Linked DNA regions of Homo sapiens: region 1 is linked to region 2. Evidence: promoter capture Hi-C in 16 types of primary human blood cells and fetal thymus (Javierre and others, 2016). All regions are on one chromosome and are shown on one strand. Each heading gives the region's core, a stretch centred on a gene start or on the middle of the fragment in contact. The rest is flanking DNA. Distances are from core to core; before and after follow the strand shown. Region 1 holds the start of RASA1 (RAS p21 protein activator 1). Region 2 overlaps XRCC4 (X-ray repair cross complementing 4).

The links. The method cuts DNA at HindIII sites, captures the fragments that hold promoters and counts their contacts. A CHiCAGO score of 5 or more calls a contact.
Region 1: a contact is called between the fragment with the promoter of RASA1 here and a fragment that was not itself captured in region 2, in 1 of 17 cell types (M2 macrophages). The highest score is 6.2, in M2 macrophages.

What each region holds. Positions count from the first base shown.
Region 1 is chr5:87,266,090-87,269,132 of GRCh38, forward strand. It overlaps RASA1 (RAS p21 protein activator 1), which reads left to right and starts at 1,794. Exons shown (of 25, transcript NM_002890.3): 1 at 1,794-2,901. The coding sequence starts at 2,363. RefSeq lists enhancers at 1,523-1,817, 1,871-2,758, 2,516-2,565 and silencers at 1,566-1,815, 2,156-2,335. The HindIII fragment of the contact is 5,594 bases long and covers 1-3,043 here.
Region 2 is chr5:83,080,601-83,083,676 of GRCh38, forward strand. All of the region lies in intron 1 of XRCC4 (X-ray repair cross complementing 4), which reads left to right. Among named protein-coding and RNA genes, the nearest start is that of XRCC4, 4.6 kb to the left of the region's middle. The HindIII fragment of the contact is 2,083 bases long and covers 413-2,495 here.

The sequences.
Region 1 (3,043 bases), core at 544-3,043, 4.2 Mb after region 2:
TTGGTGTTCACACAGCAGACAGTAAGTAGAGTAGGTATTTTGATAGTCTTGTCTAACTGAGGGTCTAAGTTTAAAAGAAAACTGTTCTCAGGGAGGCCACCATAAGTAGTACTTCATTATTAAGTATTATGGAACTACTTCATTCTCATTTCTAGAACAGCACAGAGCTTGGCAACTCAAAACCCGCCTATTTTACCTACCCACCTAATGAATGACATTTATTATTTCTTTCAGAACCGTTTTTAGGTATTGCATACCTCCTTCTTGATTAGTATACTATACATTAATATAGTGGTTCTCAAACTTAAGTGTGCAAACAATCACTTGGAGGGTTTGTTAAAATGGATCGCTGCATATTTTCTGATTCAGAAGGTCTGAGGTGGCATTTCTGAATTCCTAGGATGTTGCGGCCTGAATTCACTTTGAGAACTCTAGCTCCTGTGACTGGTCCATCTTCCTTCTCCCAGGTAGCACACTGCTAAGAGATATGCGTAATGGAGGCCCCAGGACTACTCCTAATCAAGTTGGATTGTTGTCATTGACTAGGTAAATAGGCCTGTGCAAACTTACAAAGGCAATGCATTGCCTGTATCTTGTCACGTCTTTTAGTGGTCTTTTCTCTTTTTCCTGGGTTTCTATCACAGCCACTTGCCATCCTGAGTGTTAGTTTGATCATCCTTAGCACAGAAAATATTGATCTCAAAGATCAATATCCAATGGTATTTAATGTGGGATCACTCCTGGGAGAATTTAACAATATTGTTAATTTCAAACCATGGGAAGCTCCCTCTACATGAATGCATAGTTTGTATACATTTTAGTGTAAAAGACAAAATAACACCCTTCTCCTTAATTGTATTAAAAATGAGTTTTCAGTTTATTGCTACTTTTGAAACGATATATAATTATAACTAGCATTCTGGGACATTCTTGACATTTGACTTGTTGAAGGTGCTTGCATTGTGGATCACGTCCTGCAGTCTTTTGCACACAAACCAGGACAAAAGTGCATTGATTAGTGTTTTCTGTGGCACCTCCTCCTCTTCATCAGTATCCAACAGACTTATAATGGCATAGGTAAGTATATGAGACAGTTGATAAAGAAAAACGTATGCAAATACTGGTAGAAATCTTACTTCATAACCACTATTTCTACTCAAATTCTTCACCCTTCTCATATGGTGCCCTTTATTTCGTTTTGGAGTTTCAGAATCTATTTTAACTGTGTGTGTGTGAGATAGTCATAGTGATTTATAGCATGCAACGAAAAAGAAAACATTAATAGTACTGCCCCGATCTTCAAAGCTACCTGACCCCTGCCCGGTTTCTGCGCTGCTGGTTAAGGCTGTTTTTTCCACTGGTCAGGAAGTACGGAACTAGTTTCTGGGCATTTTCCTTTCCCTTTCCCCCTCCTTCCTCTCCACCGCCTCCTGGTCCCCCTCTGGTCTCTCCGGCTTTAACAGCGCCAAGCACCCGCGTGCTCAGGTACCCTTCCCTCTTCTCCCGCCCATCAAACAAAGCCCCGGGAGACAGGCGCGCGCCGCCGGCCACGCCAACAGGAGATGCGGCCGCGCCGCCACACGCTTGGAACCGGAGGAGGACAGCAAGCGCGACCACGCACCGCGCGTCCCCGCCGCTTCCTTCCCTCTGGACTCTTCCTTTTCCTCCCGGCCCGGCCCCCCGCCCCCGCTCCGGGAACGCGCCTGCGCACAAGCTGCCCTCTCCCTTCTCCGCCCTTCCTTCCCTCCGTCCCTCCTCCCCTGCCCCGCCTTCCTTTCTCTCTCTCCCGTTTCACTCACTGAGAGCTCCAGGTAGTGAGCAGTTCAGTCGATTTCCTCGTTACCCCGCCCCCCTTTCTCTTGCCCCCCCACCCCTCTCATCTGCCTGGTGGAGGATGAAGCGGCTGCAGTGGCCCCAGCCTCAGCAGCGGCACCGGCGGTGGCTGCGGTGTGGGTGGCCGGAACTGGGGTGGTGAAGAAGCGGTGGTGGCGGCTGAAGGAGCGGTAGCAGCCTCAGCCTCTTTCCCTGTGCTTCCTTTCCTCTTTAGTGCAGCGAGGAAGTTTTCGCTTCTGTACATGTGTTTGTGTGCGTGAGTGTGGGTGTGTGCGGTGAGGTTTGGGTGGCGTTTGTGCAGGCGTTGGGTTTTTTGCCCACTTGGCTTCCCGTAACCCAGGCAGCTGGGGAGCCTGGGCTGTGGCCCTAGGAGGGGGCGCGGCGGCGGGCTCTCTCCTTTTGTTGTTGTTTCCTCAGCCTGGGGAGCTGAAGGGGAGACGCGTCTGGGTGGGGCTGCTCGGAGCCCGGGCCTGGTGGCCCCTGGGGCTCCCGGGCGGGCAGGGTAGGGCAGAGTAGAGCGGGCTTCAACATGATGGCGGCCGAGGCCGGCAGTGAGGAGGGCGGCCCGGTAACAGCCGGAGCTGGAGGAGGCGGCGCGGCAGCGGGCTCCAGTGCCTATCCCGCAGTGTGTCGGGTGAAGATACCCGCGGCCCTGCCTGTGGCAGCCGCCCCCTATCCTGGGCTGGTGGAGACCGGAGTGGCTGGAACTCTGGGTGGCGGAGCCGCTTTGGGGTCAGAGTTCCTAGGAGCCGGGTCTGTGGCAGGGGCACTGGGGGGAGCTGGACTGACAGGGGGAGGTACTGCTGCTGGCGTAGCTGGTGCTGCTGCTGGCGTGGCCGGTGCTGCTGTTGCTGGACCTAGTGGAGACATGGCTCTCACCAAACTGCCCACTTCGTTGCTTGCTGAGACTCTCGGGCCAGGCGGCGGTTTTCCCCCTCTGCCCCCTCCCCCTTACCTGCCCCCTTTGGGGGCGGGCCTCGGGACAGTGGACGAAGGTGACTCTCTGGATGGACCAGAATACGAGGAGGAAGAGGTGGCCATACCGTTGACCGCTCCTCCAACTAACCAGTAAGTTAAGACTGCTGTTCAGGAATTTGGGAAGCTGGCTCCAGAAAAGAAGTGGAAATGAAGGGGTAAATCATACTTTGTCCTTTTCATCTGTGGTTTGTTAGGAAAAGTTTTTGAAGTTTCAGGTTTCTTGGGTAGGAAT
Region 2 (3,076 bases), core at 204-2,703:
TATTCCATCCTATCCCATTCAGCCCGGGGCCATGAATCATCTCCTTGTTTAGCGTATCCCTGCTGTATAAGCTTCCTGCCTTTTAGTTGCTTGGTTATCAGATTGATGGAGGTGGTATCACAGTGCGTGTGTTCTAGGAATACTTATTTTACTTAATTATTGCTTCAAAGCACAAGAGTAACGACGCTGGCAATTTGGTTATGCCAAAGAGTAGCTGTAAAGTGCCTCTTTTAAGCAAAAAAAGGAAAGTTCTCCACTTAATAAGGAAGAAAAGAAATCCTATGTTGATGTTGTTAAGAACTATGGTAAGAACAAATCTATCTGTAAAATTGTGAATAAGCAAAAAGAAATTTATGCTAGTTTTACTGTCACACCTCAAACTGCCAAACTTATAGCCATAGTGCATTATAAAAGCTTAGTTAAGATAAAAAAGGAATTAAATTTGTGGTTAGAAAATGTGAACAGAAGCATGCTCAGATTGAAGGCAGTTGGATTCAGCCTCCTCACGGGGCCTTGGGATATACACCCTTGGATAAGGAGAGGACTGCTATAAAAGGTTTTAGTATTAAGTTGGTATTGCATTTGTATCACCAGACCACTTTCTCCCCATTTTCTCTTTTTACTTTGTTGCTAGTGTTAATGATAGGGTTGATTTACATTACCTTTTACATTACCTACCTTTTTTCATTCACTGTTATTCACATATATTGAAAGACAATTGTTCTGCTTTTTTCCTCTTATCCTCAGCTAGCCTCCCTAACCTCAGGTAGAGGTTTTTCATGTTCCAGTGTTTGTCCTTTTTTTCTCCCCCCTTGTTTTTATTCCCTTCCCACATGGCTTTTCAATTCAGACTGAAATGTACTTGAGGACCAAAGTTAATACAGTTTTATTCTGTTAGGGATTTTTGTTAAATAAGTAGAGTTTCAGCTGCCCTTGTCACACACAAAAAATAAGATAGATGATAGGTGTTAATCTCCTTGACTAAAATAACCATTTTACTATCTGTGTGTATCCTATAATGTCAACTTGTAAACCTCAAATATACACATTAACATTTTTTAAAAAAAGAAGTTTCACCAAAAAAGACACTTCTATTTAATGTATGTCTTATTTCTTTTACCTTAAGAAATGTTTCTCTTAACCTTTCTCCATTTTCAACCCCATTTGTTTGCTCTTCTCTGCAACAAAAATCCTCTAAAGAGTTTTCTATGCTCCATGTTCCAATTCCTCTTTTTCTACCTCTGCATCTTCATTGGTATATTTAAAAGATATCTTGAACTCAGATGTCCCAGACCGAACTCCTTTCCTCCCAAACCTTTCCCATTCTTTCTCATCTGAATTGATGGCAACTTTATACAGCCAGTTGCTCAGTTAAATCTTTGGAGTCATCCTTGACTCCTTCCTTTCTCTTGTATTCCAACAAATCTGTTGGCTTTTTCTATGAAATATATCTAGAATTCAACAGTTTTCTACTATTTCTGCTATTAGTATACTGATCATCTCTTGCTCAGATTTTTGTTATTACCCACTATCATTTCTTGCCTGGATTATAGTAATTGTGTTCTGTTCTCTCTGCTTTTTTCAGTCCTTGCCTCCCTACAGTCTATTCTCATATGTCAGCCAGAGTGATACTTTTAAAATATAAATAAAAAATTGTGTATTTACATGTAAGATTCTAAATGCAATATGTTATGCTAGATTGGATCCTGAAACAGAAAGAGGTTATTAATGGAAAAACTGGTGAAATCCAAATAAAGTCTATGGTTTAGTTGATAGAAATGTATCAGTGTTGGTTTCCTGGTTTTGATAAATGCACCGTGGTAGTATAAGATGTTAATATTAGAAGAAATTGGGTGAGGGGTATATGAGAACTTTCTATTATCTTTGTAACCCTTCTGTAAATTCAGAATTATTTCAAAATAATATACAGAAGAATAAAACATTACTTTTTTGCTTAAAAACCTTTCGTGAATCATTTGATTCATAGTAGAAGCTAACAGCCTTACGTTGGCCTACAATAGTCTACATCAGTCTTGTCCAACTTACAGCTCACAGGCTGCCTGTGGCCTATGATGGCTTTGAATGCGGCCCACCACAAATTTGTAAACTTTCTTAAAACATTATGAGATTTTTTTTTTTTTGAGCCCTTTAGGTATCATTAGTGTTAGTGTATTTTATGTGTGGCCCAAGACAATTCTTCCTCCAGTGTGGCCTAAGGAAGTCAAAAGATTGGACACCTCTGCTCTACATGATCTGGTCTCCCATTACCTCTCTGACTACATGTCTTTGTATTCTCTCTCCCTTTGTTCCAGCCATACTTACCACCCTGTTTCTTAAGTACACTAGGCCTACTTCTACCACAGGGCCTTTGCACTGACTGCTGCTTCTTTCTAGAATGCTTTTGGATCCATACAGCTATTCCTTCATAGCTTTTACATGTTGTTCAAATGTCACCTTTGCAGTAAAGCATATCCCAACCTCCCTATTTAAATTGAAGCTTTGCAACTTCCATAGCCCCTACCCCTATCTCCTCCACCCTGTTTTATCTCCTCTTTTTACTTCAGCGCTTATCATTATTCTATATATGTATTACATATTTGTTACATGTATTTTTAATTGTGTTCCCCTATTAAAATGTAAAATCCATGAAGGCAGGCATTTTTATCTGTTTTGTTGTCTTATGCCACATTCTAAAGCATTTGTCTGAGGCATAGAAGTACTCAGTAGGTTTTGTTTGAATGAATGACTGACTTGATTGGGTGTTTGAATCTGTAATTTTTTTTTTTTTTTTTTTGAGATGGAGTCTTGCTCCGTTTCCCAGGCTGGAGTGCAGTGGCACAATCTCTACTCACTACAACCTCTGCCTCCTGGGTTCCAGCAATTCTCTCTTCTCAGCCTCCTGAGTAGCTGGGATTACAGGTGCATGCCACCATGCCCAGCAAATTTTTTGTATTTTTAGTACAGACGGGGTTTCACCATGTTGGCCAGACTGGTCTCGAACTCCTGACCTCGTGATCCACCCGCCTCAGCCTCCCAAAGTGCTGGGATTACAGGCATGAAGGTGCTGGGATTACAG